Regions from separate parts of the Homo sapiens genome. Here regions 1 and 2 are each linked to region 3. Evidence: promoter capture Hi-C in 16 types of primary human blood cells and fetal thymus (Javierre and others, 2016). All regions are on one chromosome and are shown on one strand. Each heading gives the region's core, a stretch centred on a gene start or on the middle of the fragment in contact. The rest is flanking DNA. Distances are from core to core; before and after follow the strand shown.

Region 1 (2,700 bases), core at 131-2,630, 520 kb before region 3:
AAGAGATAGCAGGTTTTGGTGGCATCTGTGGGCAGCTAGAGCAGATTGGCTTTGGTGATGACGTACCAGTGTTCTGGTCCCCGTGAAAAAGGATACATGAGGATGGAGTGCACATGGCCTTGGCAGCACGCCCAGTAGAGGCAGTGCTTTGTAGGGAGGGAGACATGAGGTGAAACCAATTGCAAAAATCCAAAAACAGAAAACATGACTGGCTAGCTTTCAGTGGAGGGACCCTTCCCCGGAAGACGACACATAAAAGTAGCCTCTCCCGCATGAAAGTCTAGCTTCTCAGTGGTGGGGGAGGGGCAGGGAATTCACCTATCATCTGAAATTGAGAGCTTCTGTGAATGGCATACATCAGATCCCAACCCCAGCCTCATCCCCATCACACAGACACACCGAAACAAGTCTCAAAATTTCCTCAGAGAAGGAGAAAGGACATTTCTCATTCCATCAGCTTCCAACCCACAGCCAGGTAGAGTTATGAAGCCACAGTCATCCCCACTTCATAGTGAGACCAGAGCACTCAACTAAAACATGCCTTGCTTCCTTTGGAGACATTTCTTCCAGGTCCCCCAAAGCTGGATATTTTAGCCTCTTCTGAAGGCTTCTAAAAATTCTGGGTACCTTGTTGTTCTCCAAGCATCTTGTTGAAGTAACATGTGCTTAACATCAGAAAGAGAAGTTTTGTCTTTAGGAGAGTTGCACATTTAGGGCACAATAAATATACAGTAAATACACAAAGTGGCTCACTGGCTGGGAAGACTTCGGGGTTTCTAACTGCAGGGGCTGGGGGATGCCAATCTCCTGCAGCACCTGCTTGGAAGTAGCCCAGTCGTATCAGAAGTCCAACATCAGGATTTATAAAGTTCCTTGGCTTCCTGTAGGTGGATTCTCAAAGTAGGGAGGGTGTCCCAGACTGCAAGGTATGAGACTATTCTCCAGACACAAGACTTCCCCTGCTTATGCCAGAAATTTCAGCATGAGCAATTTGCTAGTTTAGGAACAGCACAACTTTAAGGTTTTTTAAATACAAATTACTCCATGCCCCCTCAAATGCCCGCTCCTCAAGATGCTTGAAGTTCTATTGTTAATAATTTTTACCTGTGAATTAGCAAAGCTCTCACCAAGCTCCCTTTTTAAAATGCAAGCACATCTTAGGAAGCCTCAAATCCAAGGCCCACTGATATCTCCTACCTCACAGGGAAAGCAGTAGTGGGGTTCTTGGGGGTTGGGGAGAGGGTGCACACCCTGGAATAGGGGGAAAGCACAAGAAAAAGAAGACAAGGACATTAGACAGACTTGACCACTGTCACAAAGTGCCAAGGGCCAGCTCTAGTGGTATATTCCTTTGAAGCCATCCAATGTCCATCTGAATCACACACGACCCCATCCAACACAGGCACAAATCTATCTTTGGGTCTGGAGGAGGGTGACCTCTTATTTATCCTCCAGACCAGAACACTTCTGAGTAAAATGGGGTGCTGTGAATAATTAAACTGGGATAATAAGTATAAATGGGGACTGTCCTGTCCTGGGAAAACCTAAAAGTAGGACCCTCTCTGAGACCATTATAGGCAGGAACTGAATCCTTACCACTTTGGTTTTTTGTTTTTTTCCTGTTTTTGTTTTGTTTTGTTTTGTTTTTCAGTGTTACCCGAGGCTTCTCTGAAGAGCTAGTTTTCCCAGCTGAAGAGACATAACACCTCCCAGGCCTGGAATCTATGACATCAAAGACCAATGGCCTAAACCTGAAGACTGGGCAGTTCTCATCTGCTTCCTGTAGGAGAACTCAAGGAAAAACAGTGAGCTGAGAAGCACAGGGAACCCATTTGTCCCTTATTCTAGCACACAGAGGACACGGTGCAGCTTCGAGAATTTTCCAGCTCTTCTGCAGACAAAGTCACAGTAGTTAAAGTACATAAGTGGGTGTGGCCAGAGAACTGCCCCTCTCACTGGTTATTTCTGGACATTCCCAGACTGTCCAACTGGACCTTCAGAAGAAAGCAGCTTTAGTAGTCTCAGGGTCCCCATGGGACAAATCCAGAAGAGAGGTCTCTGTGACTTGATTTTTAACACAGCGAAAGGATCAGTAGTAAAGAAATCCAGTAGACTGTCACACACGCTCACCCCCCAACTTAGAGAAACATAGAGAAACACCATGGTCTACACACACACACACACACACACACACTCCAGGGTCTGTATTGTCCCTGTAGAAACACCAAAACAAAGCCCAAAGGTGCTGCCTGGGGATGTCAAGACCCCCCTTGCTCAGGGCATAGGCCAGAGCACCTCAGGGGAACGGGGGTGGGTAATGGTGTCCACACTGCGATGAACAACACCAGTCTGCCAAGTCAGAGGAGAGCGGTTCTCACAGCAGCACAGACCCTCCCAAGCAAGTTGAATCCAGTCACCAAGGTCCTGCTGTTCAGAGTCACAGGCAGCACCTGCTCCTTCCTCCACCTCCTGGCAGTAGGAGTTTGGGTCACAAGGACTTGTGAATCACGGCAACACCTAATAAGAAAGGGGGAGAAAGTTATCATCTTAGCTTCTCCAAAATTACTCAGAGTCCCAGTGAGTTCATGAATCCAAGATATCCTGAGTCACAGCCAAGGGAAATGTGTGCAATTTTTATCCTAATATTGAAGTGGACTCAGGCTGCTAGCAGCTGGCTGTTCCCCACTCCAACAGCCAAGT
Region 2 (2,700 bases), core at 77-2,576, 540 kb before region 3:
AGATTGAGCCCTACCACTTACCCCTAAGGGGCCTTCTTCTCCAGATGCCAGCTTATCTGGCTACTTCACTATTATCAACAACTACTATGATGATTTTGTAATGCTTCCTAGATTCCAGGCCACAGCAAAATTAAAATGAATATTCTGCCCAGGATCTGCATCTCACAGTAACACATTACCCCAGAAAGATGGTGGAGTCAATCTCCTTCCTAACCTTCCTTGACGGAAATCTTCAGCTCTTCCTAGGCTGTTAATATTTTCCTTTGGAGAAATAAAAGATCCTAAATGCTTCTACTCTGGAAAGCACAGATATTTCAGGATTATTTCAGGGACCAAATGTCTCTGTGGTAACAAGAGACTTTCTTCCCCTTCAAATGTGGGCCTGTGATAATGATTAAAACGATAGACAGGCTAGCTACTTTCCAGCAATCTGCGAAGACTGCAGCAATATACCCCAAAGTGTCTCCAGAGAAAAAAGAGTGAGATTAAATAATTTGAAGATAATTTCTTCTGTGAAAAGAATAATGTTGCCATCAAAATGAAAACTCTTGTAATAAAACCAAATTATGCTGAGACTTTGGGAGCACTCTGTCTCTCTCCTACCATTTCGAGGCAGCGCTTCTACAAAAACAGTGCTGGAATTGTCAGCACAGGGTTTGTACGAGAGGCAGATAGTAAGGCAGATGCCCCCGCTGCCAGTCCCATAGACAGTGTGCTCCAACGGGATGGAACACATGGGCCCAGGTCTAATATTACATGCTAATCAAGCCAGCAAGAAAAAAACAGCAATTTGCTCCAGGGCCTAGGTCTAATATTATGTGCTAATATTAAGTCCCAAGGTCTAACATTAACAGAAAGAGCCTGGTCAACACCTAAGAAGTCAAAACCAACCTCTCTCAGGGGCCTCAAGGGAATCAGATCACCAGGATCATGAGAAACAACAGCACTTATTTCTCTTCCCCAGTAGGGTCCAGTTAGGTGGGGTGAAGCTTTCCCATTTGGTTTGGTGTCTGCACATGGAATAGACCCAGAGGCAAATCTATGTGTGTTGGATCCCAGAGGGCTGAAGGCAGAGAAAGGCAGGAGGTGGAACTTGCAGGGGAAGGAGAGAGACAGCTGACAGGATGCCTCCAGAACCAAATTCTGCCAGGCCAGGGATTTGGGCAAATCATCACCAAGGTTCCTCCAAAGAAAATTACATTTCTGTCCCAGCACAACATGCGAAAAGGCTGGAGATATTTTTTCTTTATATTTAAGGATATATTTGAGATAGTCCGACCTAAAACACAGGGACATATCACAGTGATTTTGGGAGCAACATGAGGTGATGCCTCTTCGTCCAAAGCAGTTGAAACCAAAGTACAGCTATTGGCACCCAAGGGCCAGACCCTCAGGTAAAATGTTTCCATGAATAGTAAGACACTGCAGACACAGAAAACAAACAGGAGTGCTCAGTGTGGGTTCTAAACCAAAAATCAGGAACACAGACTCCCTGGCTTGCAGGATTTGGGTTGTGATGGGCAGCTTCTAACCAGGCAGTGAGTAGCACTTACTACCTGATATTTAATAATTTATCTGAGCCTCAAAAGGGATAGGGGAAGGGGGTGTTGGTCTTTGCAACTAGCCAAACAGAGAGCAGTGAGAAAAGATGCAGAGTATGACCTGAAGCTTCAGTATGACCCGGCACCAAAAGGATGCAGCCCCAAAGAGAAGTCTCTTTCCTCACATGCCAGCTCCGCACTCTCCAGCAGCTGCAGGCTTCCGTGTGTACCTGACTTTCTCCCCACTCTGCATGTGACTCCTAGAGGCAGGTCTTAGTCGTCAAGGGATACCCAGAGCCCGGTGGGTAAACAATGAATAAATCTCTCAGTCTAAGGCCTGAAGCTGGTGAGGTTAGTGACTTTGCAGATCCCAGCTCTCCCATGCCCATTCCTCCCCTGCTCTGCTGAGCTCCCTGCCTCTTTCAAATTCTGCTCTCCAGAAGGGACATTTGCTTACTTCTCAGGCAAATTTATCTGCTCCACGACTCCTGCGTTTTAAGCTGCGTGCCTGGGATGAAATATGTTGTTCCTACCTAAGACATGCCTAGCCTTTGCAGACTAGCAGAGGCGGGCAGCAGGTGGGGGGCGTGGAGGGTGCTGAAGAGAGATTGGGATTGAGATGGAAAAGCATTTGATTTAGTGCAAGTAAAACATAGGGAGAAAGCAGGAAAAAGGCAGAGGAGCCTATAAGCCCCAAAACAAAGAGCATCACATCCCCTGAGGGAGAGACCAAGGAGAGGATTAATCAAGGTTTTGATGCCACACAGACCTGGATTCCAATCCTACCTCCGTTTTTTACTAGCATGCAATTTTGGGCAAGTTACTTGACCATTCTGAGCCATTTCATCATGAGCACTATGGGGATGCTAATGCCAGGTGCTCAGGACTGTTATGAAGAGTAAGTGAGCTGGTGCAGATAAATTATTCAGGGGAGTGCCTGGCACACGGAAGAAATTCGAGAGCTGGTAGCTGTTAAGCTATTTGTACTTCTAAATCAAACAGGGGCCTCTGGTGTGCAAGTAAGGTATTTTCCTGTGCTACAGGGCAGAACTGACTGTGAAAATCTTTGAGATCCTCTTCACAGGAAGGCAAAAAAGCTTCTAGTATGTCCCTAAGATCTGGAAATAAAGGAGGAAGACAGCTCGAGGGGCACAGATGG
Region 3 (2,700 bases), core at 14-2,513:
AACTGAAAAAAGTACCAATAGCCTAAAATTCCATCAATAGAAGATCAAGTAAATAAATTGTAGTTCTAATACACAGGGAAATATTACACAGAAATTAGGAAGAGTGAGATCAATTCAGATGCAATGATCTGGAATCCTATCTGAGGGACTCTGTAAAGGGGTCAAGGGAAAGGGACTGTTCTGTTTTATGGGGGGAAAATGTTTATAAATGCATAGAAAACTCCTGGAAGAACAGAAAGTGTTAAGTGGTTGCCTCTCTCTGGAGCCTGGGACTTGGGGTAAAAGAGGACAGGTGAAGGAAAAGTCCATTTTATTTCTCATTTTACATCCTTTTAAAAACTATCACATATAACTTTTATACTTAGAAGAATAAACTTAAATTTAATGCTGAACACTAAGGGTTTAAATGGGTAGGCACATTTACATAAGCATTTTTTTTTTAAGGGCAGAGAGGAAAAAAGCATGAATCATCATACCCAGAAGTTACCTGAACAATGGTGAATCCGGATCTAAGAATAATATCTTGTATCTCCTCCTCTTTGTCAACAATATCTGGTTTGATAATGGCCAGAGTTTTTTCTACATATATCTGAGGTGGAGGCATTGATATCTCCATTATGGCTTTTCAGGGCACAAATTAAGAGTTTCTTAACAGGTATCAACTGCAATGACATGCATTTCCCCCCACCCCCATCGCAAATTCAATGTAATTATGATTAAGAATAGCAATAGTAGGTACTTGATTTTATTAACTGATGAAGGTAGAAACTGCCATGTTTTTCTATATACAGGGTCTCAATAATAGGATTCCTACTATGTCCAAATCGAGCCCCGGCTTTTCGTATACGATGTCACCAAGGCAGGAAGGACTATGGGCTCACATAACCAGAGGCCAAGGGGCGACCCGAAGGCCTGGAACCAGCAACAGCCCCAGGCAGCAGAGGGCGGTGGGGCGGGTGGTGGGGGCTCGAGGGGGCGGTAGAGCGGGTGGTGGGGGCTCGAGGGGACGGTGGCTGGTGGGCAACCACACACCATTACAGCGGCGGGTGAGCGGCCTCGGCCAGCTGCCTCTGTGAAGCGACCCTGTCCCGCAGGGACCTCTCTGTGCATAGGGTCAGGCTAATTGAAAAGCAGGGCCTCTAGGTCCGCGGGGACTTTCCGGGTTGCACCTGCAAATTCTGAATTTGACCCTCTCTAAGTACTCACCTCAGCGGCCGTCCTCATATGGTACAACTTGTTGCTAGGAGACCTGAAGCCCCAGCGTGGGGACGGTGGCTGCAGAGAGCCAATCCCAGCAAGGAACCTTGCAGCTTCTGGCCAGTTCGTTTTAACCAAAGGGAGCCAGCCAGTCACTTTTATTCTCCTTGTGAATCTTAGAGCACTAGATGTTTTCTGACATTTTACTCATAATTTATCTTATTTCATCCTTCTTCCCGTTTGAAGGATGCTTCAATTATCCCTACTCTATAAATGATAAGAACCCCTCCCCCAACCATTCCTTTCCAGGCGGTATATGTAAATGACCCGTGTCAGATACCTTCGTTTCACCAGATGATGCTGTGCCCTCTATGCCCAGCTTATCTAGTCATTAAAAAGCAATATTCCTATTGTGTAAATACATTTATTTATAGAGTAAAAGGCTTAGAAAAGATCTAATGGAATTGTCTTTAAATCAAGCCGATGGAACAAAGATGTGGGCAACATTTATGGCATAAATCCAAACCTCAGCTTCCCCTTTTTTTCTTTATATTATGTCCACATGCATCTTTGACTCGTTGGTTGTGAGTTAAGGTATTATTCTTGTTGGAAAAGAAAATGAGGACATGGCAAAGAAGTACCAGGATCCTCTCTAGGTCAGAGTTCCGGGAGAGATTCAAACTCTAGAAAAAGTCAGGATAGCAGCTCCAGGTTAGAAAACAGGTTTTCCATCATCCACTGGGTTAGCTGGTTCTCCTTCCAGACTACTTGAGCCTTTTCTTTTGTCTAACCAGATATTCAGTACCTAAAGGGTTAAGGAACACATAGCAAGCTATTATGAACCTTAAACACTAAAGTATTGCAAGTTTATTTTTTTGGCAAATAGACTCAACTATACTTTTTTCTTTAAAGTATGATGCTACCCAGAAAAGAAACCCACAAATGTCTTCTAGCTACTATATCTTATCCCCTAAAGATGGGAAAGTGTGAACGTACATTAATAACAACAGATGAAGCAACCAAAAAATACACAGTGACTCCAGCCTCTTTGGAGTTTAGCCCTTGACTTGAGGCTCTGGAAGCGGGAATTCCCATTACTTGTCTATCCTCAGCTCTCTTGAGAGCTCTTCACTGCTGCCTGCATTCCTAGACTACTTCACTATCAGAGCTGGACTTACTGAGGCTCAGGGTTTTCCAAACCAGCAGGCACATTATCAATCCTTCAGGGCCTTAATCACCTTTAAAAATAAACTCTGAGAACACAGTCACCTCGAAATCACCTTTATTCTCATAGGCGTTCTGAAATCAAGATTCCAGAGGCTACAGGTATCTGCATACAGTACCTGAATCTGCTCCAGGACTTCTTGCCGCATCTCCACAGCCATATGGTATACATGATGATCAGAGTCATTGTACATTACAGCATTTTGGAACATCAGCATCAGGTCTCGCAGGAATTGGGCCATGGTGCGAATCCGACCCTTAGAGAGATTTCTCTTCAGG

The links. Contacts are between HindIII fragments. The CHiCAGO score rates a contact against its expected background, and 5 or more counts as called.
Region 1: a contact is called between a fragment that was not itself captured here and the fragment with the promoter of NME5 in region 3, in 6 of 17 cell types (naive CD8 T cells, total CD4 T cells, non-activated CD4 T cells and 3 more). The highest score is 10.6, in naive CD8 T cells.
Region 2: a fragment that was not itself captured here is called in contact with the fragment with the promoter of NME5 in region 3 in 2 of 17 cell types (total CD4 T cells and non-activated CD4 T cells); the score reaches 5.1 in total CD4 T cells.

Annotation. Positions count from the first base shown.
Region 1 is chr5:137,619,610-137,622,309 of GRCh38, forward strand. It overlaps KLHL3 (kelch like family member 3), which reads right to left. Exons shown (of 15, transcript NM_017415.3): 15 at 1-2,517. The coding sequence ends at 2,489. Among named protein-coding and RNA genes, the nearest start is that of MIR874, 27 kb to the right of the region's middle. The HindIII fragment of the contact is 4,842 bases long and covers 1-2,700 here.
Region 2 is chr5:137,603,048-137,605,747 of GRCh38, forward strand. No RefSeq gene overlaps it. Among named protein-coding and RNA genes, the nearest start is that of MIR874, 43 kb to the right of the region's middle. The HindIII fragment of the contact is 679 bases long and covers 988-1,666 here.
Region 3 is chr5:138,138,165-138,140,864 of GRCh38, forward strand. It overlaps NME5 (NME/NM23 family member 5), which reads right to left and starts at 1,264. Exons shown (of 6, transcript NM_003551.3): 1 at 1,207-1,264; 2 at 488-621. The coding sequence starts at 616. BRD8 (bromodomain containing 8) reads right to left here. Exons shown (of 27, transcript NM_139199.2): 26 at 2,541-2,700; 27 at 1,606-2,002. The coding sequence ends at 1,910. The HindIII fragment of the contact is 15,003 bases long and covers 1-2,700 here.